Regions from separate parts of the Homo sapiens genome. Here regions 2, 3 and 4 are each linked to region 1. The links are contacts of gene promoters, found by promoter capture Hi-C in blood cells and fetal thymus (Javierre and others, 2016). All regions are on one chromosome and are shown on one strand. Each heading gives the region's core, a stretch centred on a gene start or on the middle of the fragment in contact. The rest is flanking DNA. Distances are from core to core; before and after follow the strand shown. Region 1 holds the start of MRPL3 (mitochondrial ribosomal protein L3). Region 2 holds the start of TOPBP1 (DNA topoisomerase II binding protein 1). Region 3 holds the start of SRPRB (SRP receptor subunit beta). Region 4 overlaps ANAPC13 (anaphase promoting complex subunit 13).

Region 1 (3,469 bases), core at 970-3,469:
GGTGATTTTATTTAAGTTATGTAATCTCTGTATGCCTATTTTCTTAACTGTAAGATCCAGATAATTATACTATTGTCACAGCAGATTGTCATAACAATCAAGTGAGAAAATACACTGAGAGAGTAAAAATGAATACTATTAGTAACTGGACTGCAGTGTTTATAGCAGAACATCAATACAATATTTCTTTTTTTTTTTTTTGAGACGGAGTCTTGCTCTGTCACCCAGGCTGGAGTGCAGTGGCTCAATCTCGCTCACTGCAAGCTGCGCCTCCCAGGTTCACACCATTCTCCTGCCTCAGCCTCCTGAGTAGCTGGGACTACAGGCACCCGCCACTACGCCCGGCTAATTTTTTTTTGTATTTTTAGTAGAGAAGGGGTTTCACCATGTCAGCCAGGATGGTCTCAATCTCCTGACCTCGTGATCCACCCGCCTTGGCATCCCAAAGTGCTGAGCCACCACGCCCAGCCCATCATTACAATATTTCTTACAGACCGTACTGTAGGCCACACCACTGCAGCAAAATGACTAACAGTTCCTTATTCTGAGTGATTCCTGCTTTCTTATGAACATCATGCCCACTTCCTCTCTGTTCTTCCTGTCTCTAGAACAAAGACTATCAAGATATCCAATTGCTGAACTGTCCTTTCTTCTTGACAGCACCCATTCTAAAACAAGTTCCTGCTTCTCTGATGCCACTTTAAAATCACTCAGCCTTAAGTCCAAATTTCATTTCAAGCCCCTCCCAGGTCACTCTTTTGGAAACATCCTCAGACATATGCTGTCTTTTGCTGCATCAAGCTAATTAAACTTGACTTTGTATGAGTTCACGTTTTCTTCTAGTAGCCTTGGCTTATGGGCTTCCACAATGCTGAGCACATACTCTAGCACACTATATGGATAAGAAATGTTAGTTATTGGCAGTAGTACAGAAATCTTCTTATTCTCAACTTCTTGCATGTAGCACACCTCAAAACATGTTTGTTCAATGAAGAGCCATCCTTAAGTATCTGGGAAGCCAGGCAGCATGGCTAGAATGAAGAGATGTAGTTTTTCCTTCAAGGTCCAAAGTATTATTGAAAAGTGTCTAAGGTAACTGCAACAGCAATGAGTGGAATGAATGGACAAGCAAAGCAAAGATTTTTTAGCCCACTAAAGTCCAAGTAATGGCCAGGAATTGACCATTGTCTGGACCTGTTAAACCAAGATAGCCAGATCTCTAGTAAAAAGAGAAGGTTGAAATAGCTACACTTTAAAGTTCTTATTTCCAAATTTCTACAAACAGTAATCTGACAAATAAGGGAATTAGTAGAAGAATAAATGTCCTAGTCACATACATGGTTATTAGGCTAGATCTGGAACCCAAGACAGGGGATTTTTTGTGCAGGTGTATTAGCTATCTATTATTGCATAACAAATTACCCTAAAGCTTAATGACTCAAAAAAACGGTAATCATTTATTTTCTCTGGCAATTTCTCCTAGTCAGTAATTCATGAGCGGCCTGGCTGGGAGATTCAGGCTTAACGTCTCCATGAGTTGCAGCCGAGGACTGGTGGATCCACTTCCTAGGTGGCTCAGTCATGACTGGCTAGTTGATTCCTCTTTATATGTTCCTCCCTGCAGAGCTGTTTGAGTGTCTGCAGGAAATGAAGGCTAGCTTTCTCCACAGGGAGCAATCCAAGAGACAAAAACTGAAGTAACAATATGTTTTATGATCCAGCCCTAGAAGGCATACATCATTTCTATGGGTGTAGTCTATTGATAACACATGCCAACCCTGTTTCAGTGCCAACTCTGCTCCTCTGCCAGATGTGTTGTTTTGGACCAGCACCTAAATTCTGAGTCAGTTTCCTCATTTATAATAGAAAAATAAATACTTCCTTTCAGGACCGTTTTTTATGATTAACAAATATAGGATTATGAAGCGCTGCTTAGCATAATGCATTGCCTCACAACGGGCACTATTTAGAAGTGTCTTCATTTTCCTTAGCGTCCTCAGGAAGTCTGTCCTTATTCTTCTAAAGTTTAAACTCTGAACATCCCTTTTATTTTACCCCTGGAGAGGCGAGTCAGTCCCTTCCCACCCCTACCTACTCCAACTCACATCCAAAGTAGGACAACGGTGGAAGCAGAACTATAGTTTCCGGGGAGCGACTCGAGTGCCCGGAGTTCATTGTAAAACGCACCGGAAGTGGGTCCGGCGGCTTTCTTTCCGTCGCAGAGAGCATCGGCCGGCGACCGTTCCGGCGGCCATTGCGAAAACTTCCCCACGGCTACTGCGTCCACGTGGCGGTGGCGTGGGGACTCCCTGAAAGCAGAGCGGCAGGGCGCCCGGAAGTCGTGAGTCGAGTCTTCCCGGGCTAATCCATGCCGGGTTGGAGGCTGCTGACGCAGGTCGGCGCCCAGGTGCTGGGTCGACTCGGGGACGGCCTGGGTGCTGCCCTGGGCCCGGGGAACAGGTAGGAAGGTGTGAGGGTGTCCTACCTGCACAGTTGCGTCCTGAAGCAGTGGAATGGCCTGGTGCAGTTGGGCCTCCCCTGGGTGGAGGAGGAAGGGGCTCTGTTGAGACGTGGGACACAGAAGAATAAGGGCCGTTAACCTAAGGAAGCACGTTCTAAGGGGATTGAAGTGGTGATTTTTAAAAAACGCTTATGAGCCAGCCACTAGCAGCGAACGCTATTAACAGCAATCATATCTTACAATTAGTGAGCGTTTGCCAGGTACTAAGCGCTCTGCTAAGTGTATTAGGTGCCTTATGTAGCCTCACGGGAGCAAACTGCTATCATAAGGTTTACAGATAAAACTGAAGGTTAGGGAGGTGAGTTAATTTGCCCAAAGTCACTCAACTAATAAGTGGAAAATTAGGAATCTAGCCTGAATTTATCTGACTACAAAAGGAGAGTAGACTGCAGAAAGCTTTACTTCTGTTCTGACCCTCCATGCAAGAATTACACCCCTTCTTCCTGACCTCCGCCCACTAAGGTCTTTCTTGGTATGTTCACCTGTTCAGAGGTCATGCCTTTTGTGGATCTTTTAACTTTGCACACCCAGTTTCTTCACTTCTCTGAACCTAGGCCATGTCATTGCAGGGAGGAGGTGAGCTTGTTAGACAAAGATCAACATGCCACCTTCTGCCACCTCCACTGAATGTAAAACTATTAAGGTACACTTCCAAATGGGTTAGTGGCTTTTCATGTCTATAGGTAGGACTGTTTTTTGGGGAATATGTTTATCTGCGAGGAGAAGATGAATTTTTTTCTCCAGGGTAACGACTAACAGTTTAAATGTGAGCCTTATCCGAAGGAATGTGGGGAGTGAGGAAAAGGTTGGAGACCTGAAAAAAAGGTATACAGAATCCAAGCCCTTTCCCAAGGCCCTGACTACACTTTCCAATTTGTGACTTCCCTTTTCTATATTAAGTGGAGGAAGTTTTTAAATTGTGGTTTGGTTTTATTTATTTTTTCTTTT
Region 2 (3,545 bases), core at 392-2,891, 2.2 Mb before region 1:
CCCATGTTAACTGTAAAGTGCCCTAGAAATATTAATTGTTATTACAGATTCAGGTCAGATTTGCACCTTAACAATTAACTGTGGTTTCTTTTTTTTCCCACCTCTAGTGATTTTTGTTTTTTTGCTTTTAAGGCTTTCTTCACCCTTCCCCCAGCAATAGGCCTTTACCTTTGAGCCCCAGTGTTAATTGATTCTGACTCATTTCTGGTAAAAAAAAAAAAAAAAAAAAATTAATGATATTTATTAAAGCACAGTAAGACAGATTTTATTCCGGACCATCAGGATAGGTATAGCAACCATGGCAATGGGATTCTGAATTAGGAGAGAGAGAGTGGGCTCAACTCTAAATACACCATGGGCAAGTGGGAATTTATAGCCAAGGAACAAAAAGCTTGGGGTCACTGGATAAAAAATTACTAAGAAGGAACTTCAGGAGTAAAGGGGTTTCTTGCTGAAAATAGGTCAAGGTGATCAGACATCACCTTGGATGGTAGAGGATGAGGAACCTGATCAGATATTGAGGGTAGAGGGTTCTAACTGGATTTTCCAAGGAAATGCACAGATAAACCTACGAGAAGGTTGAGGAGTCTGACTAAAGTTTGGCCAAGCAAAGAATCTTTGTCACCTTCCATCGGTGTATTCAAAAACTTAAGACTCAAGCTGCTCATTACTATCTTTAGGCTCTAAAAAGAAAAGAAAAACAAAAACAATCAAGGGACATGGCATTATACTTTTACATTAGTAAATCCAAAGTCATTTTCTCAATCTCAGCAGTGAATAATAAAATGATCCTCATTAGTATAGTGGCTAGATTTTATAAAATAAGAAAAAATTTTTTTAAAAAAGAATAAAATGAAAAGAAGCAACAACGAATCAGTTTTCCGCTGGTTATCACTAAGGTTTGCAGGCCCATCTTATCCCCTCTCCCTTTGCTCTCTGCCATCTGAATCTTAGGTTCAGTCCCAGAATCTCCCCAGTACTGAGGCAGATGCAGAGAAAGAGAACGGCGATGTCCACTGAAGGGGAGGAGGAGGGGAGACCATTGAAGATCTTGACAAAGATCCCTTTGCATTAGCTGTGTAATAAGTCATCCTTTCTTCCCTTGCCATCTTGTGGCTGTGTTAGGCGGTGATTCTATTCCTGCTGTGTTGGAGGGAAACCACCCAGTCCGTAGTCAGAAGACCTGGATGCAGTATTAATTCTACCACCTACTAGCCGTGTGCCCTTGAACCCATCATTTAACTTCCTCCGTTTTTACATCTACAAAATGGAACTACCACTATTTGCCTCACGGAATTGTTTTGGATAATACCTTTTCCCGTGCATGCCTGGTATAAGACAGGTGTAAAATAAATATCTATTGAGGAAATCCTTTCTTTCCCTGGCTTTTTTAACAGTAAAGGAGTATTCCTGGCCTGTGGTCCTACCTCTTGAACCGACGGCGCTGGGCCTACTCGCAGCGGAGACTAGGCCCGCCCAGCAAAGCCCTAAACCCAAAGGGTCCGGCCCAAGCTTTCCCTGAAGCCCCACCGCCCACAGACTGCTCACCTCCACGTTTGACATTTCCGCTCTTCTGCTGCAGCTGCCGATGGCGTCACTTCCACCGGAAAAGGCAAGCGCGGCCGCGCGGTTGGCGCGAAAGTCGGTTCCCGTTCTGGGCAATTTCCGGGTTCTCCAGCGTTTGCTTTGGGGTAGGGGCGGCGCCGAGTCGGGGGAGGGGGCTGTGCGCCGGGCTGGCGCCCGACCCCAGCCACCGCCCTGCGGCCAGCGCGTCCCCCGACTCGCCGCCCGGAGACCCCGAGGCTCCAACGAGGTAAGTGAGGCGCGGAGTGGGGACACAGCTCCTCCCCAGCCCCAACTGGGGTTCGCGATGCCTTCTGTGGCCTTCAGGACCCTCTTTTCCTGTCCTGGTAACTGGCCCTGGAGCCGGCGGGTGGGCCTTTGACGCCGAGAGGACGTGGCTTCCGTGATCCCAGAGCCAGGCCTTTTCCTGGAGATGGGAACCGGAGCATCTAGCCTTATGCAGGGCCAAGACCATGCTAACTGGCTTCCATGTTTATATTTAAAATCTGTTTACTGAGGGATGAACGTACCTCGCAGGCCGTGGGTATCCGCAGGGACAGATACACTCTGTGTATCCTTAAAACAAGTGCAATTGAATGTCCATTGGCCTAAAGGGCTTAGAGCCTTCATAGCAGGGCCTTCCTCAGTGTATTCAATTCGGGTTAATTTTGCTGTCTGATTTGCAAGGATTGGTGTTGTCATCTTTTACCTTGGCTTTGTCCAAGTTCCAGGATTTCTTAGAAATGCCGTTGACGAATTCACGGGCAGAGCCAGAATGTCTGTCTTTAGGCATTCTTGTCTGCACAGAAAAATAGGTAGGTTAAACATGCAACTTTTTATCTAATGTGGTTTTGTTCTTGTTAATGGTTCCTTTATTTTGACAGTTCAGAAATGTCCAGAAATGACAAAGAACCGTTTTTTGTGAAGTTTTTAAAGTCTTCAGACAATTCCAAATGTTTTTTTAAAGCTCTCGAGGTAAGAGTTGAAAACATCTTAATACCGTGAATTCATTTTCTTGTTTTTAAGTGTTTTTGATTTGTTGGGCTTTATGTCTTAGAAGTAGATATTTCACTTTCATAATAATTTTATAGTCTACATTAATACAGATATATCATTATCACATATTTTTGAATTGATCTAAGTACATCATTATGTATTTCGGGGGGCTGGAAGTCTATTATCACATTGCTGTTTAATATGGCTGACCTACAGTTCTTGGAAATTAAGTTGCTTTCATTTGTCTCCTAGCCAGAGTGGTCCTTTGCGTGCTGTAGAAATTTGAGTCAGTTGTGTACTGGTCATACTTGAAAATTTTTTGGTTAATTGTTAAAAATTATGTTTTATTATGTACAGTATAATAATTGGATGATAGTAGGGGTGATGTAGATCCTTGCTTCTCACAGAACCCAGCAGTATCAGCATGGCCTGGAAGTTTCTTCGAAATGCAGAATCTTGGCCTCCAACCCAGACTTAGAATCTGCATTTCTAACAAGATCTTCAGTGTGCATTAAAGTTTGAGAAGCATTTGTAGCAGATTTTTTTAAACTTCATTCATTCAGCAAGTATTTATTGAAGTGTTCATGATTTGATAGGCACTTCTCTAGTACTTGGGATTTATCAGTGATGAGAACAGGCAAAGATTTCTGTTCTTTCAGAGCTTACATTCTAGCAGGAGGACATAGACACTAATCAGACATGATAAATTAGGAAGAGAAAAAAGCAAAACACGTTAAGGGGTTCCAGAGGATGTTTCTTGGGGTGGGAAGAGAAGGGGGTTATAATCTTAAATAGGGTGTGATCAGGGTAGGCTTTATGAAGAAAAAGATATTGAGTAAACGTGAAGGAGGTGAGATAGCCTTGCAGATATCTGGAGAAGAATGTTGCAGGCAGAGAGAGCAACCTTATACAGCCCCTGGGAAAGTGCCTGTAGTCTCTATCCAAGTTTAGTGTACTGTTGTGTAGTGAGTGAGGGATGGGGGAAG
Region 3 (3,419 bases), core at 385-2,884, 2.3 Mb before region 1:
CCCGGCTAATTTTTGTATTTTTAGTAGAGACAGGATTTCATCATGTTGGCCAGGCTGGTCTTGAACTCCTGACCTCAAGTGATCGGCCTACCTTGGTCTCCCAAAGTGCTGGGATTACAGGCGTGAGCCACCAAGCCAGGCCCCATGATTCCTTATATTTGAAATACACTCATATATACTCTGTAAGATATCCATTGCAGCACTGTTTGTAAAAGCAAAGGTTATAATAACAAAACTAAATGTCTATTAACACGGTCCAGATTAAGTAAGAATTTAATTTTATGGTATAGCAACAGAGTGGAGTACTATGCAGCTCATAAACCAACCAGATGGTACTATGTATACAAATGTAGGACAATAAGAAAAGCCCAAGTTGTATCAGCCGTATGAGAAAAATAATGGGCAGAACAGCATTTAAAAAAAAACAACAATAAAGGATATACAGACATGTTTGTATATGCACAGAACATCCGGAAGACTACATACAAAAAAAAGTAAGTCACTGCTTCTGAGGAGAAAACTAGGTAGTGGGGAAAGGAAAGGAAAAATTACTTTTCACCAAATATCTTTTCTAACCTTTTGAATTTTTGTCCCATGTGCATGTATTACCTATTCAAAACTTAAAAGGTTTAATGCCCACTCTTAAGAACTCATTGTAAAGTTGGAAAGAAGACACAGAAACAAAAAATAAGAATAAAATGTGATATAACATTACTGTACATTAAGGTACAACAATGCAGAGGAGGGCATGATTAAATCTACTGTACAGATTGTCAAGAGAATTTGTCACAAAGAATATGTTTCTCCATAAAAATAAGCTACAAATGGTACTTACATCCTCAGATGAACTCATCCTAAAAATGTCCTTAACTGACACACCACAGTAAAGTAAGACTGTCAGACTCCAAAACTCCACAAACATCTTACCCTGTTATTGTTGACTCTGTATACAGCACAGCTGTCAGTAATGGACGTCTGAGTGTCTCTATAAAGGCCTGTTAACAACTGTAAAAAAAACAAGATGGGTGATATTCAACATTTTAATAGCACACCTAAATTGAGTTATATTATTCTAAGTCTCCCAGGTGTAAGGTTAAGTAAATGAATGCTGCTTCCGACAGGTGAAAAAGACGATATTGATTTTTTTTACCTGTAGAAAAAAATCTAATTAATTGCATATTTTACTCCTCAGTGGAATAAAAACAACATTATTCTCAAAAGACAGTTAGTGGCCAAATTTGCCAAGCTTCTGTAAAGATTTTTAACCAACAAAAATGATTTGAAGCCTGGGCAACATGGCAAAATCTCATCTCTACAAAAAATATAAAAAATCAGCCGGGCGTAGTGTTGCACGCCTGTAGTCCCAGCTACTCGGAGGCTGAGGTGGGAGAATCATCTGAGTCCCAGAGGTCAAGGCTGCAATGAGCAGAGATCTCGCCACTGCACTCCAGCCTGGGCATTGGAGTGAGACACTCCCTCAAAAAAAAAAAAAAAAAAAAAATGGAGGTATTTCTTTAATGGAAGGGAAATAATTTATACTCTCAAAAAGAAGAGTTAAAAAGCAGAAAACCTCTCCTATTCACCACATTAAAATACACTGTTAAAAATACTAAATGTATTAAAAATAAATATTAGTAAAAAGAAGCCTAACTAGCCCACTATGTCAAAGAAGGATCACCCTGTGAAAAAGTGTCTTCGATAAACTGTCCTAAGAATTTGTTAACGAAGGAATTATAAACTGTAGGACACTAGCTTCTATGCCTTCTGCTATTCTGGAATGAAACTAATTAAATAAAATCCTTGAATGTGATAAAGACTAAATATCAGCATCTGGCAAGGGCAAACAGAAAAAAAAAAGGAGAAATGACCAATATTTCTCAATTATGGGTTTCTACGAGTCTTTTTGTTCTCCCAAGTAAGTCAAGAATTAACTTCCAAATTTAACAGCATCAGCTTCTTTTACAAAATAAACCGTGAGATGACAGGAATACTGGGATCTATAAAATTTTCTATTAAGCTTAACAGGGGTGTCAATGAAATCATTTACCCTGACAAAGAGCAACGTTTTCCCGGAATCACAAAGGCCAACAAGAAGAACAGCTCTCTGACTGCTCCTTCTGCTCCGGATTAACTTCCAGAAGACTGTGGAATAGACAGAGAAAAACAACAAAAATTACGCCTTGGGAATCAGTATATGTGCATGGCTGGGGTGGGGAAATTCACAGAAGTCTGTGACGAAACACCTCATTCACCTGGAACTGACTTTTATCATAATGGTTACTATTGCTGTTGTTAGGGATCCACTGAGAGCCAGGCACTGTCAACTGTCAACTTTTCTTTGCAGTCCTTACTCTGACTGGGACTCAGGTGCTATCTCACTACCTTGGTATCCCAGCGCCCGCACGCAAACACGGGAGGCTGAAAGTTGGTGTCAAGACCCTGAGTCTTTGCAGTGAGAACAGCGGAAGGCGAGGAACAGCGCGCTCAAGCGTAACAGGGCAGATGACGAAGAGCAATCTGCGCCCCAAGGACCAGGACGTTAACTCCGGGGGTTGCCCGGCATCCCCCTTAACGCCCAGCTGCTGCCGCTGCTTCAGGAGAGAGGGTGGGGTGTAGACTGGGTGGGTCTCACCCTCCTGATGCCCTCAAGGCGCCCTCTCAGCCCCGCGTCCCCGGCCTGCAGCGGTGCAGCCAAAGCCCGGACCTCTGCCCGCCCCAAACCCGCCATGACCACCGGCCGCCTTTTACCTAGCGTCAGCAGCACCGCAAGAACCGCCACCACTACTGACAACAGCGTTGGGTCCGTCTGCTGCAGCTCCTGCCGCAAGGTGTCTAGGTAGGGCTGGAAGGTGCCCCCGGCACCGCCGCCATCTGCCACCCGGCGCGAGTCCGCGGAAGCCATGGATGAGACGCGTGGTCCCCGGTACAGCAAAAGCGACGTGGCCCTGCACTCTGCGCAGGCGCGGGGAGCAGAGCCTCACGCGAATGGTGGTTCCTAAGCCATAGTCTCTCCCTCAGCCGCGGCGATCCCCCAAGTGCTTGATGGGAGTTGTAGTTCTCTGGGACTCCGTCCTCCTACAGAACGATAGGGGCAGACAGGTTATTTGTCGAGGGACACACACATCTTTTAAGAGATGAGTCAGTCGTCGTCACCTACGTTATGACTGTTGAAAGAATGATGAAATGAATAAAATGAATGAATGGCTCCCGAAACTACCACTGAGGAGTTCCCGACCGTCGCTAAGTGACGTGAGACTTGTGAAGAACTCAAGCATCCTACAAACATTTAATCTGAATTTAATGTGACAAGGGATGTGACAGATGGATGTACGGAGCGATGTGGGAATACATAATGGGACGCGGAGTCCATCATGAGTTCAGAGAAAAGCTTCTGGACATTGGAATTGAGTCCTGAAGAA
Region 4 (3,328 bases), core at 341-2,840, 3.0 Mb before region 1:
CCTTAAAATATCACCCAGGCTGAGCTCTGAAAAAAGCACCTCCAGATGGTGGGTTCCACCCCGCTCCACCACCCCAAAATTGCTTATTGTGTGAGTCTCCATAGTCTCAGAAACTGAGAGTACCTTTGATGCCAGTGGCTTCCGGGCTTTTTGGATTGTCACTTGGTAGCAGGGAGCACCCATAGGATGATGCCTATGATGAGTCAGGGCCCAACCTTGGAAACAGGGAAATCCAGAAGTATCCTACAAGCTAGCCAGCCTTTTGGATTAGATTATAGCAGTTTCAGAGAAAAATGGGGAATCAGCCATGGTCAAGGAGCTAAATAAGCATCGTGACCATTTGGGCCAGAAATTGAAGGGAGTGTAGCGTTAAGAATTAGAGGAAGGAACCTCCGAGGAAGGAGCTACCCCAAAGGGAAGCAGAAACTGGAGAAACTTTAGCAGTATGAGGTTCTACCACTGGTGTTCACCTAGAAGTGCTTTATTCAGATCTCAGCCTGGGTACTATTTTAGGGAAGGAAGCCGTTTCCTTTACAGTATGTTCGTGTGACTCCTGTGCCTAAGAATGCTGAGGTTTGAGCCAGGGGCTAGAAAGGAAACTTAGCTGGCCATTATGAATCAGGGACTCATCAAAGGCATCACAAACAGGAAAAGGTGAATGTTCAAGTTAGAAGAGAAGAGCTACATTGAGATGCAACATATTAATATTTGAGGGCCTCGTTTAACGTGTTGCTCTCCTGTCACACTCTATGACACTGGTCTGTCAGCTGGGCTATGCCTGTCCAGTATACACTATAAAATATGTATCAGTTGGGGTTGGAGAGAGGAACTGTGATCAAAGTAGTCACCCGGCCCATATGAGAAAATGAACCTTTTCCCAAAAGGTGGCCCCAGACTAAAAAGCCTGGAGAATCCTAATAGTGGATTATACCATCTCTTCAGTCTTCGTGTTTAAGAAATAACCTCTTTGGCTTACAGATTTGACAAGATCAAAGCTGCAGGAAAATGGACAGTGAGGTTCAGAGAGATGGAAGGATCTTGGATTTGATTGATGATGCTTGGCGAGAAGACAAGCTGCCTTATGAGGATGTCGCAATACCACTGGTAGGTTATGATTTGAGCTGAGGATGGGTTAAAGGTATTGATCTGGCAGTAACTAGTGGAGGAGGGATATCAATGGAAGATAAACTAGTGTGGCAAAGAAATCAAAGCTGTGGAATTCTCTAACTCTAGAAGCTTCTGGAGAGCATCCAGTTGTATGTTTTATTTGAAGAAAAATGTGGTTCAGGGAGCTAACATGGCCAGGTCAGTTAGGAGTCATGCCAGGACTAGAGCCCCGATTTTCTGAGCCATGTTCTGTCCACCACACGAAAACCAGAGAAACCAAATAATGAGAGTTTAATGCGCAAGATGGGGAAGAACAAGAAGCAGCAGCATATGAGCTCTGTTTCTTACTTCCCTGCCTGTGGCTCATCAGTCTTTCAGCATTTTTAGAAACTTACATTCTTGGAGCATACACCTATCTTAGGTTCCCTGGAAAATATTCAGAAGATACCTGGGTATTCTTTTGCGTTTAGGCCAGTGGCCTTCTGGAATACTCTTTTCTTCCCCATCTTTGGAAAACTCTGCTGCAGGGAGTTTGTTAAACCTCATGTAATAAGTGATCCAAAAGTTTTGCTTATATAAATGTTTGTTTAAAATCCTATTTATGTCATAGAGGCCTAAAAAAGGGAAAACAGGACTGTTTTTCTTTAAAGCATGCCAGCTGCCCTGAGAAGAGTAGTTAGTATTGAATAAAATATAATTTATAGTTAGAATATCTGCTGTTGCTGTTTGCAAAGAAATAAAATAGTTCATCTGTATTTTCATTTACGAATAAGAGATAGTAATATGTTCAATGAATAATATACATATCAAATAAGTCATAGCTTAGTTCAAGCTTAGGAAAATAGTCAAAAGAGAGAGCATAATAAGAATTATAGATGTCATTTATTGAATACCAGTTTTATGCCATGGACTGAGGTTGGAAATATACATTATCTCTAATTCTTAAACAACCCTGTGAGGGAGGTGCTGTTATTCCCATTTTATAGGAAAAGAATAGGATCAGAAAGGGCAACTTGCCCAAAGTCTGGTAGCAGGTAAGTAGGGCTTCATATAACATATACCTAGGTCTGTGAAGTTCCAAATCCTGTCTTGTGAACTTCTGTTCATTCATTCATTTGACAAGCATTTTTTGAAGCCTACTGTGTGCCATAAGACTATGTGAACATAAGATACAGTTCCTCCTCCTGAGGGGTCTAGAAAGGCAACACTTATAGATAAGTAATTGTGATAATAAATATTCTAGGTGGGGGCATAAACAGCCACATCATATACGAAGTGGCTGATTGCCTGGTGGGCATCAGAAAGGCTTCTGAGAGAATGTCATGTTTAAGCTGGGTCATAAGGAAGGACCAGAAGTTTAGTGGAGGTAGACAAGGGTATTGCAGCAGAGGGGACAGATGTGTAAAGGCCCAGAGTTTTGAAAGGCTTTGGGACATGGTGAGTCATTCACTGTGGATGAAGAATACATTTGTCACATAAGTAGGCTGAAAAGTTGGGCTTGGATCAGATTGAGAGTGGTATTTGATATCACACTTAGACCTCATCCTCAGGAGATCCAGGAATGAATGGTCTTAAAAGCAAGACTGCTATGCTCAGATTTGGCTTTTGGAAAATCAGTTTAGCCAGCATTGTTAGAGATGGTGTGACATGGAGATAGGGGCAAGTGAGACCAATTGGCAAGCTGTTGTGGTCTAGGCAAGGGAGGAGGGCCTAAACAAAGTCAAGAAAATAAAGGAGACGTCCATTTCTGGAGAAGTTTATGGCTCAGATTGGAGAACATTTGGGTGGCAGGGGTGGAAGGAGGTTTCCCTGCTGACTTCCAGGCGAAGTTGGCTTGGCCCTGCTGCTAATCCACACCTTTCGCTTGTCTTGCGATTCTAAGGCAATGTGTATGCCAGTTAGGTTTTGCTGCATAACAAGTCACCCCAAAGCTTAGTGACTTAAAAGAGCAACTGTTTATTTCATGATTTTGTAGCTCAGCTGGGAGGGACTTCTAGTCTGCACCAGCTCAGCTGATCCCTGCCAGGCTTGCCTGTGTTGTGCAGTCAGCCAACAGACTCTGGAGGCTGGGTAATCTAGGACTGTCTCACATGTCTGGCAGTTAACAAGCTGTCTGCTGGGTGATGGGGTGACTATGCCATGGTCTCTGGTATCCAGCAGGCTAGCCCAGACTTCTCAATCTCAGGGTTCCAAGAGCAACCTGAGAGGAAACGGCAGAGCT

Evidence for each region. The method cuts DNA at HindIII sites, captures the fragments that hold promoters and counts their contacts. A CHiCAGO score of 5 or more calls a contact.
Region 2: the fragment with the promoter of TOPBP1 here is called in contact with the fragment with the promoter of MRPL3 in region 1 in 2 of 17 cell types (activated CD4 T cells and total B cells); the score reaches 5.8 in activated CD4 T cells.
Region 3: a fragment that was not itself captured here is called in contact with the fragment with the promoter of MRPL3 in region 1 in 5 of 17 cell types (naive CD8 T cells, naive B cells, activated CD4 T cells and 2 more); the score reaches 8.7 in naive CD8 T cells.
Region 4: a fragment that was not itself captured here is called in contact with the fragment with the promoter of MRPL3 in region 1 in 5 of 17 cell types (total CD8 T cells, total B cells, naive B cells and 2 more); the score reaches 6.1 in total CD8 T cells.

The regions. Positions count from the first base shown.
Region 1 is chr3:131,501,721-131,505,189 of GRCh38, reverse strand. MRPL3 (mitochondrial ribosomal protein L3) reads left to right here and starts at 2,219. Exons shown (of 10, transcript NM_007208.4): 1 at 2,219-2,460. The coding sequence starts at 2,369. It overlaps LOC105374114 (a long non-coding RNA gene), which reads right to left and starts at 2,591. Exons shown (of 3, transcript NR_189111.1): 1 at 2,486-2,591. RefSeq lists enhancers at 2,321-2,390, 1,897-2,583. The HindIII fragment of the contact is 1,488 bases long and covers 1,432-2,919 here.
Region 2 is chr3:133,660,037-133,663,581 of GRCh38, reverse strand. TOPBP1 (DNA topoisomerase II binding protein 1) reads left to right here and starts at 1,641. Exons shown (of 28, transcript NM_007027.4): 1 at 1,641-1,813; 2 at 2,448-2,538. The coding sequence starts at 2,455. It overlaps LOC124909487, which reads right to left and starts at 2,356. Exons shown (of 3, transcript XM_047449438.1): 1 at 2,236-2,356; 2 at 1,549-2,069; 3 at 244-683. The coding sequence starts at 2,356. The coding sequence ends at 534. It also overlaps a transcript of TF not described here. RefSeq lists an enhancer at 1,215-1,284 and a silencer at 1,685-1,854. The HindIII fragment of the contact is 9,162 bases long and covers 1,515-3,545 here.
Region 3 is chr3:133,805,332-133,808,750 of GRCh38, reverse strand. SRPRB (SRP receptor subunit beta) reads right to left here and starts at 2,936. Exons shown (of 7, transcript NM_001379313.1): 1 at 2,749-2,936; 2 at 2,048-2,142; 3 at 928-1,005. The coding sequence starts at 2,902. LOC105374116 (a long non-coding RNA gene) reads left to right here and starts at 3,268. Exons shown (of 3, transcript XR_924513.3): 1 at 3,268-3,419. RefSeq lists enhancers at 2,375-2,484, 2,515-2,564, 2,675-2,884, 3,025-3,084, 3,175-3,284. The HindIII fragment of the contact is 771 bases long and covers 1,249-2,019 here.
Region 4 is chr3:134,480,582-134,483,909 of GRCh38, reverse strand. It overlaps ANAPC13 (anaphase promoting complex subunit 13), which reads left to right. Exons shown (of 3, transcript NM_015391.4): 2 at 979-1,104. The coding sequence starts at 1,006. Among named protein-coding and RNA genes, the nearest start is that of ANAPC13, 3.7 kb to the left of the region's middle. The HindIII fragment of the contact is 703 bases long and covers 1,239-1,941 here.